2 separate regions of the Homo sapiens genome follow, and region 1 is linked to region 2. The links are contacts of gene promoters, found by promoter capture Hi-C in blood cells and fetal thymus (Javierre and others, 2016). All regions are on one chromosome and are shown on one strand. Each heading gives the region's core, a stretch centred on a gene start or on the middle of the fragment in contact. The rest is flanking DNA. Distances are from core to core; before and after follow the strand shown. Region 1 overlaps ZNF136 (zinc finger protein 136). Region 2 holds the start of ZNF699 (zinc finger protein 699).

Region 1 (4,340 bases), core at 1,072-3,571, 2.9 Mb before region 2:
TAATTAACAAAATATACATATAGCTTCTACATTTCCATCAGGTTATGTATTTTCTAGAGACTACATGACCCGCTATGCATGAGGCTTTTTGAAGTACTTACATTTATAGGATTTTGCTGTATTAGAAGTTTTCAAATGACTTTTTTTTTTTTTCTGAGATGAGGTCTTGCTATGTTTTGCACACTGGTCTCAAACTCCTGACCTCAAGTGATCCTCCTGCCTCAGCCTCCCAAAGTGCTGGGATTACAGGTGTGAGCCACCACACCCAGCCAGAGCCAAAACATCTGTTCAAATTCAATACCTCAACTAGTGAGGCCCTGCTGGGATTGAAATCCAGCATCTCCTGTTTGCCAGACAAGTACTTTAACCCACAAAGCCACAGAGCCAGAGCCCTCAAATGACTTTAAAAGTATAATGGAAAACCTTCCTTGTAGTTTTCACATTTATAGTGTTTTGATCCAGGGTACATTCTTACATGTTGTTGAAAGCATGTGGGCTGGCTAAAAACGTGTGGACATTGCTTATATTCAAGAGCTTTCTCTTTTGTGTGTTCTTTCATGGCTTCAAGTGGAACTAAAATGACTAAAGGCTCTCCCACACTCTTTACATTTACCAAGGTTCTCTCCACTACACATTCATGTGTGACAGGGTTGTGTGATGACAAAACCTTTCCTACACCCTTTACCCAGGGTTTCTCTCAAATATGGGTTCCTTTCCAAAAAGCATTTGTTTGGTTTTCTCCATGATGAGTTCTTTCATGTATTTGAAAGGAACTAAAATGATTGAAAGCTTTCCCATGTTACTTACATGTATATGGCTTCTCTCTAGAATTCTTTCATGTATTAAAAAAGGCACTGACAGAATTTCATGCTTTCCCACGTTACTTACATTCATAGGGCTTCTCTTCAGTGAGTATTTTAATGTATCTGACATGAACCCAGAGCATTAAAGGCTTTCCCACATGCATTTATAAGGTGGTCCATCTTCAGCATGTGTTAACATGTGTCTCTGAAAGCTGGCACGGCAAGAATAGGCTTTCCCACATTCCTTGCAATGATAGGGTTTCTGTCCAGTGTGAGTCCTTTCATGTAGTCGAAAGGAACTAGAAGATCTAAAGGCTTTACCACATCGCTTACATTCAAAGGGTTTCTCACCAGTGTGAATCATTTCATGTGTTCGAAAGGAGTTGAGATAACTGAAGGCTTTCCCACATTGCTTACACTCATAGGGTTTCTCTCCAGTATGAGTTCTTTCATGTATTCGAATTGATGTTGAAGAAACGAAAGCTTTACCACAATGTTTACATACATAAGGTTTCTCTCCAGTGTGAGTTCTTTCATGTATTCGAAATGGACTCAGAGAATGAAAGGGTTTCCCACATACCTTACATTTATAAGGTCCTTCTCCAGTATGTTTTATCATGTGTCTTCGCATACTTGGGATACAACTGAATGCTTCCCCACATTCCTTACATTCATAAGGTTTTTCTCCAGTGTGAGTCCTTTCATGTATTTGAAAGGTACTGGCAGATCTAAAGGCTTTACCACATTGTTTACATACGAAGGGTTTCTCACCAGTGTGAATTCTTTCATGTAGTCGAAGGGAGGGGAGATAACTGAAGGCCTTCCCACACTGCTTGCATTCATAAGGTTTCTCTCCAGTATGGGTTCTTTCATGTATTCGTAAGGTTGGGGAACAACTGAAGGCTTTACCACATTGCTTACATTTAAAGGGTTTTTCTCCAGTGTGAATTCTTTCATGCACTTGAAATGAACTCAGAGAATGAAAGGGTTTCCCACATACCTTACATTTATAAGGTCCATCTCCAGTGTGCTTTATCATGTGTCTTCGAACACTTGTGATACAAGTGAAGGCTTTTCCACATTCCTGACATTCATAGGGTTTCTCTCCAGTGTGACTTCTTTCATGTGTTCGAAATCTACTGGGATAATCAAAAGCTTTCCCACACACCTTACATTTATATGGTGTATATCCACTGTGTGTGATGATGTGTCTTCTAATTCTTTTGAGAGAAAAGAAGGTTTTTCCACATTCCTTACAATCATAGAGTTTCTCTCCAGTGTGAATTATCTCATGTGTTCGAAAGGAGTGGTGAGAACTGAAGGGTTTCCAACACTGGTTACGTGTATCTGGCTTCTCTCCATATTCCTGATATTCCTTTGGTTCATGTCCACTGTGATCTTTGATGTGTCTATTAAGGGATGACTGACCCATGCTGACTTCTCCATATACAATGCTTTCACAGAGTTTCACTCCAGGGATTTTCTTGCTCAGATTCTGATTTGCAAACTGGCTAAAAATTCCTCCACGCTGACTACCATCCTTAGTTTGATAGAGTCTTTCTAACATATGACTTCTGTAAAAAATGAGACGGACATTACTAAGGATTTGTTAATCATTTTATATTAATAGCTATTAAACTTGCATTTTCAATATTATCAGGTAAAGCGTAGACTCGATGCCAAGTCTGATTTGTTTGAGCATGAATGAATTCAATGCTCTGCAATGGGCTTGACCGCAACTATCACTCAAACAGTGATATTCTTAAATAGTTTCTTAATTCTGTTGACAAATGAACATTTTTATAAAAACTGAACATCTGTTTACACTGAAGAATATGTATTTGGGGAAAATATTCAAAAAATAAATCAATTTGAAGCTTGGCTTATCAGTTATGTTTGCCTGTTTTTAAAATTTCATGACATGCTAAGGTACTTTCAAGTGAATTTGCTTTCTCTGAGTACAAATTACCTTAGATTTCTCCCTCGGTGTTTGTAGTGATCTTTAATGTTCTGGTCCTTCCATTTTTTCCCTAAAACAGAGACCCAGAAAAATTCTGAATTAGTGCAAAATTATAGAAAAATTATTAGATTCTAGGTTCATGATACCCTGTGACTATGCCTGTTTTAGCCCCCCAAGTACTCTCCCTCCATGATGCAAACCATGGAACAGCATCACTGCACAAGAAGCACTTCTTCTTTAATTGCTAAGTGATGGAAGTATACAATCCTTACCTATAGAGGCCAGATTCCTCATGGTTTCCCACATCACATCTCTGTAGAGATTCTTCTGGGAAGGATCTAGCAAAGCCCACTCCTCCTGGGTGAAGTTCACATCTACATCCTCAAAAGCCACCGAGTCCTGAAACATCCCACATATGTGGAGAGGAGAATGGGTGAGACAGACAGGGCTGGGGAGCTGTACTCAATTCATAAGAAGTTCACATGTTTCAGGGGTCTGCAAACATTTACTCCACTGTTTGGTCATCATACTCACTTCCTTCCACACAGCAACTCTCATACTAGAATGGAACTATCGGGTAGAACAATAGCAGTGTCTGATCATCTTTCTTGGTGGTGGTTGCAAGGAGTAATACGTGCTGCCTGAGTCCCAGCTAATGTCTGCTCATACAGTGGACCTGTAGAACCTGTCATAACGAAGTCCTACCACCTACTATGCAAAAGAGTTTATATTAGCAGTCCTGAGACTGCTTACCCTTAAAAAAAGGCTCCTCACTCCTCACAACATTCATCTGAGGTAGGAGACCAACAGGACTTGTATTCTGATCACAACCCTACTGGCCAAAACAAGATCTGGCACAGGTAGGATAAAGTAAAGAAAGGGGCCAAAACCAGCAGACGACAAGAACAGCGATCTCTAGATGCTCTCACTGCTCATTAGCATAAAACACTCCCACCAATGCTATGACAGCTTACAAATGCCATGGCAATGACCTGAAAGTTATCATTCCTTCCTTAGAAAGTTTTAAATAACCCACCACTTAATTTGCATATAATTGAAAGTGGGTATAAATATAGTTGCCAAGAGACCATATGTTGCTGACTCTGGGTGTACTGCCTATGAGTTAGCACTGATCCACAAAGACCAGTACTGTTAAATAAAACACTGTTATCTAACACCACTGGCCTGCCCTTGAATTCTTCCCTGGGCAAAGCTGGAAACCATCCTGGGATAAGCCCCAATTTTAGGGCGCACCTGTCCTGCATCACATCCATTCCTGGTATCTGGGAAACGGATTTGGGGAAGGAGCCCAATGACCTATGTAAGAGTAGCTCGGTGCCTAAACTCTTTATGGAAAAAATATGAAAATTTCTGGCGTCCCACCTTCTGAGAGTTTGGGAATTTGTTACACGCGCAACACATAGTGCCCACCTGATGAGCCCCCAGAAACACTCCAGGAAGCATTTCGCATGTGTTCTCACAATTGGTTACTGGGAAAATTAAGCCCATCTTCTGTTATTATACTAAGAGAGAATACTTGCAAGCTTGTACCTATCCTGCAGATCAAATATAATTAA
Region 2 (4,400 bases), core at 1,491-3,990:
CTTTCACTAATTCCGCTACTGCTGATTAGAAGGCAGAACCAGGTGTACAGGGTGGAACATGAAAGTGGACCAGGAGTGTGACCACTGAAGCACGGCATCACAGGGAGACGTTTAGGCCTCTGGATGGCTGCGGGCGGGCCTGACTGATGTCAGGCTTTCCGCAAGAGGTAGTGAGCAGAGTCTTCTCTAACTCCCCCGGGGAAAGGGAGACTCCCTTTCCCTGTCTGCTAAGCAATGGGTGCCTTCCCCAGGCACTGACGCTACTGCTAGACCAAGGTCCGCTAGGTAACGGGCTCCTTCCCAGGGGCTGGCATTACCGCTAGACCAGGGAGCCCTCTGGTGGCTCTGTCCAGGCATAACAGAGGGCTCACCCTTGTCTTCTGGTCACTTCTCACCATGTCCCTTCAGCTCCTATCTCTGTATGGCCTGGTTTTTCCTAGGTTATGATTGTAGAACAAAGATTATTATAATATTGGAATAAAGAGTAATGCTACAAATGATTAATGATATATACAATCATATCTATAATCTATTTCTAGTATAACTACTCTTATTCTATATATTTTCTTTATTATACTGGAACAGCTTGTGCCCTCGGTCTCTTGCCTTGGCACCTGGGTGGCTTGCCACCCACGCGTACAAAGAAGGCAGAAAGGAAATACAGAAAATTCAAACACTGCTGGGATTCTGAATGTTGTTTGTCTTTTCCTTATACTTTTCCTTTAAAATAAAAAACTACAATGAGAACATAATGCTTCATAATAGAAAAAGATTTACACTTAAAAAACATAGATGATGAAAGGGAGCTGGCTAGGGCACCAGGGACAGGCATTGGGAAGGTGACCTCAAGCCGCAGTGAAGAAGTAATGAACAACCTAGGGACCAATACAGAAAGGCCACCTGTGGTTCACTTATATAACACATCTCTACCTCATATTATACCAAAATACATTCCCTGAGCAGTAAAGAATTATACGTTTTAAAAAGCAGTACAATTTGGAAGTAAATTAGGAAGTATTTTTATATTTTAGAGTTTGGGGAGACATTTAAAAGCAAACTAGGAAACTCAGAAACCATTTTACTAAAAGTATAGATTCATTGGGGATATATAAAATTGAATATATATATTTTTGAGATGGAGTCTTTCTATTGTCGCCCAGGCTGGAGTGCAATGGCGCGATCTCAGCTCACTGCAACCTCTGCCTCCCAGGTTCAAGCGATTCTCCTTGCCTCAGCCTCCTGAGTAGCTGGGATTACAGGCACCCGCCACCATGCCCAGCTAATTTTTTGTATTTTTAGTAGAGATGGGGTTTCACCATGGTAGCCAGGCTGGTCTTGAACACCTGACCTCAGGTAATCCACCGGCCTCGGCCTCCCAAAGTGCTGGGATTACAGGCATGAGCCACTGCGCCTTGCCTAAAATTAAATATTTTATATGGATATCATATTATAAACTAAGAGGAGCAAAATTATGTTATCAACTCAATTGTTGCATAAACATTTGATAGTGTTCATAAAAAATTATTGATAAAATATCTTTATAAACCTGGTTTAAAAAGATTAACTTGATAAGAGGTGCAACCTGTTGTAAACAGCTTACTGAGGAACTTTGGTAATCATTACCGACCAAGACAAGAATGCTTAATTTCTTTCCGACTTATAGTTGAGGAAGCCCTAAACAAACAATAAGAAAAAGAAATGACTCTGGGTGTGGTGGCTTACACCTGTACCCCTAGCACTCTGGGAGGCTGAGGTGAGAGGATAGCTTGAGCTCAGGAGTTTGAGACCAGCTTCAGCAACATAGTGCGATCCCATCTCTACAAAAAAATAAAGAAAATAGCTGGGTGGGGTGGTACGCGACTGTATTCTCAGCTACTTGGGGGGCTGAGATGGGACCATCACTTGAGCTGGGGAAGTCAAGGCTGCAGTGAGCCATGGTCGCGCCACTGCACTCCAGTCTAGGCGATAGAATGAGACATTGCCTCACATAAAGAAATGAGTTATACACATTAAAACAATGAAAATATGCAGAGAAAATATTTATATTTGATGGTTCAAATAATAAACTGACAGCTATCAGAATTCAGCAAGTTTCCAGGAAAAAGGTTCTATTTAAATAATTATCAATGGCTTCCCTCTACAGGAGAAGTTATCAATACAACAATGAAAGGGAAAACTAAAAGGCCCAAAAGGACTGAGTGAGTGTCAAGGAGAGTCTGTTTCCTATTAGAGCTGCAAATATATGTGTCCTGTGTACAGGACTGTAGCAACGTGGAGGATAGGTAGAAACCCGATCGATGAGCATCCTGTATCCGTGGTAGCTGAGAACCTGGATGGGAAGCCCTAGCCTTAGCCCCATCCCTAGGCCTTGTCACTTAAGCCCCGCCCAGCCCTCGTCTCCGCCCCCTAGGAATTTCTACCAAGCCCCGCTCCCAATCTGGTTCCACCTTTAGCCCCGCCCCTTGGAGTATTTAAAAGGCCACGCCCCTAGGTCTAGCCCCAGTTCCGCCCCTCAGGCCGAGTCATGCAAGTCCAGTTCAGGGTTCTGTTTCTTCTCTGTTTACTCCAAATCATGAAGAAACTAGGATTTCTCATCCACTTGCGGCTGGAACCAGCCTTGGCGCTCCTTTGCATCCCGCTCCTACCTGCTCCACCCCCTTCACCTCAAGTCCCGCTTCCCAGGCCCCGCCCCATACGCCATTTGCAGCGCCGAAAGAGGAATCAGAAGTGTGCTTCTGCGCATGCGCGAGTCGACAGCCTTGTCACCCTACGCCTCCGCCCGCGTCTGAGGAACATTTTTGCCTCCGCCCGCTTCCTGTCCTGCCCTGCCCCGCCCCGCCCTGCCTGCCCCGGGTCGGGTCCGCGGGAGACCGAGGGCTGGGTTTGGGAATCGGCGGTCTAAGGGCTGCCTCCCCGCCACTCCTTGTCCGGACCCCGCGCCCGGGGCCTCCCGCCGCCGCGGCGCCTCCTCAGAGAGCCCGGGTCAGCTGCCCCTGTGGCCGCGGCTGGTCCCAAACTCACTGAATCGGGAACTCTGGTCTGGGTACAGAAATCGGGGTGATTCTGATGCAGGCGAGAGTTGGAGAACCAATGTCGTAGTTCATCAGCCTCCGAAAGCATCCTTTGCTCTCTTTCCAGAAAGGAAGAGCATCTCTGCCATTCGTGTCTCAAGGACAAGCGCTTCAGCCTCGTTCTCTGTGAGCTGATCTGTGGATCGCGGCGTGTCGGGTGAGCACGGGGTGACATTTGCCTCGGCTCGGTCCCCTCCTGTCCCCTCTTTATGCATTAGGTAGTGTTTGGGCCAAGCGCGGTGGTTCACGCCTGTAATCCCAGCACTTTGGGCGGCCGAGGCGGGCGGATCGCTTGAGCCCAGGAGTTTGAGGCCAGCCTGGGCAACATAGCAAGATCCCGTCTCTACCAAAAAAAAAAAAAAAAAAAAAAGTAAAATAAAAGGTGCTCTCCTGTGTTCCCAGCTACTCGGGAGGCAGAGGTTGCAGTGAGCTGAGATCGCATCACTGCACTCCAGCCTGGGCAACAGAGCGAGACACTGTCTCAAAAAAACAAAAAGATAGTATTTGGTCTCTGGATATTATATTCTGCCTGTGGACATCAGTTTGATACATTATATTCAAGTGAAAGTGAACTGATGCATTTTGTCATTAATGATGCATTTGAATCATTTGTCTATAGATTGGTTAAATTTCACACAGAAAATTTGGTCATCTGTCAGTTTCAATCTTTTCCCTTTTTATTCCTTGCAGTTTCCATTTCTTTTCATTTCTTTACTGCACTTGCCAGGACCTCCAGTACAATGTCCGACAGAATAGCATGTAATTTACATCCTGTCTTGTTTCTGATTCCAGAGGGAATTATTCTATCATTTCACCATTAAATAGGATGTTTGCTGTAGGTGTTTGTAGGTTTTTTTCCTTTCTTTATTCCTATTTCTTTTTAGAAAATAGGAGTCTCGCTCTGTTGCCCGGGCAGGTCTCGAACTCATGGGCTCTCCGCCTCCCAAAGTGCTGGAATTACAGGCATGAGCCACTGCACCCGGCCTGACCGTGTTTTAAACCGCTGATTTTTTTTTCTTTAATTACTGGGTGTAATCAGGTTTTAGATCACTGCTTGAAAGTTGTACTACTTTCTAGAAATTCATTAATTACCTGTGCATCTTCATATTTATTCCTTAAATTTTTTCTATATTCTCCTTATGATATCTGTAATTATGATTAATTCTTGTTCATTTTTTTTTTGTTGTTGTTGTTTATGCCCTGTTGCTCTTAAAATTGCTGAGTCTGTTGCTGGCTGCAGTGGCGCATATCTGTAGTCCCAGCTGGTGGGAAGCTAAGGCAGATGGATCGCTTGAGCCTAGGAAATGAGATCAACCTGGGAACATAAAG

What was found. The method cuts DNA at HindIII sites, captures the fragments that hold promoters and counts their contacts. A CHiCAGO score of 5 or more calls a contact.
Region 1: a fragment that was not itself captured here is called in contact with the fragment with the promoter of ZNF699 in region 2 in 1 of 17 cell types (monocytes); the score reaches 6.6 in monocytes.

The regions. Positions count from the first base shown.
Region 1 is chr19:12,184,607-12,188,946 of GRCh38, reverse strand. It overlaps ZNF136 (zinc finger protein 136), which reads right to left. Exons shown (of 4, transcript NM_003437.5): 2 at 3,036-3,162; 3 at 2,773-2,833; 4 at 1-2,377. The coding sequence ends at 946. Among named protein-coding and RNA genes, the nearest start is that of ZNF136, 24 kb to the right of the region's middle. The HindIII fragment of the contact is 722 bases long and covers 1,961-2,682 here.
Region 2 is chr19:9,308,178-9,312,577 of GRCh38, reverse strand. ZNF699 (zinc finger protein 699) reads left to right here and starts at 2,740. Exons shown (of 6, transcript NM_198535.3): 1 at 2,740-3,228. RefSeq lists silencers at 171-465, 2,821-3,070 and an enhancer at 2,641-2,760. The HindIII fragment of the contact is 15,955 bases long and covers 1-4,400 here.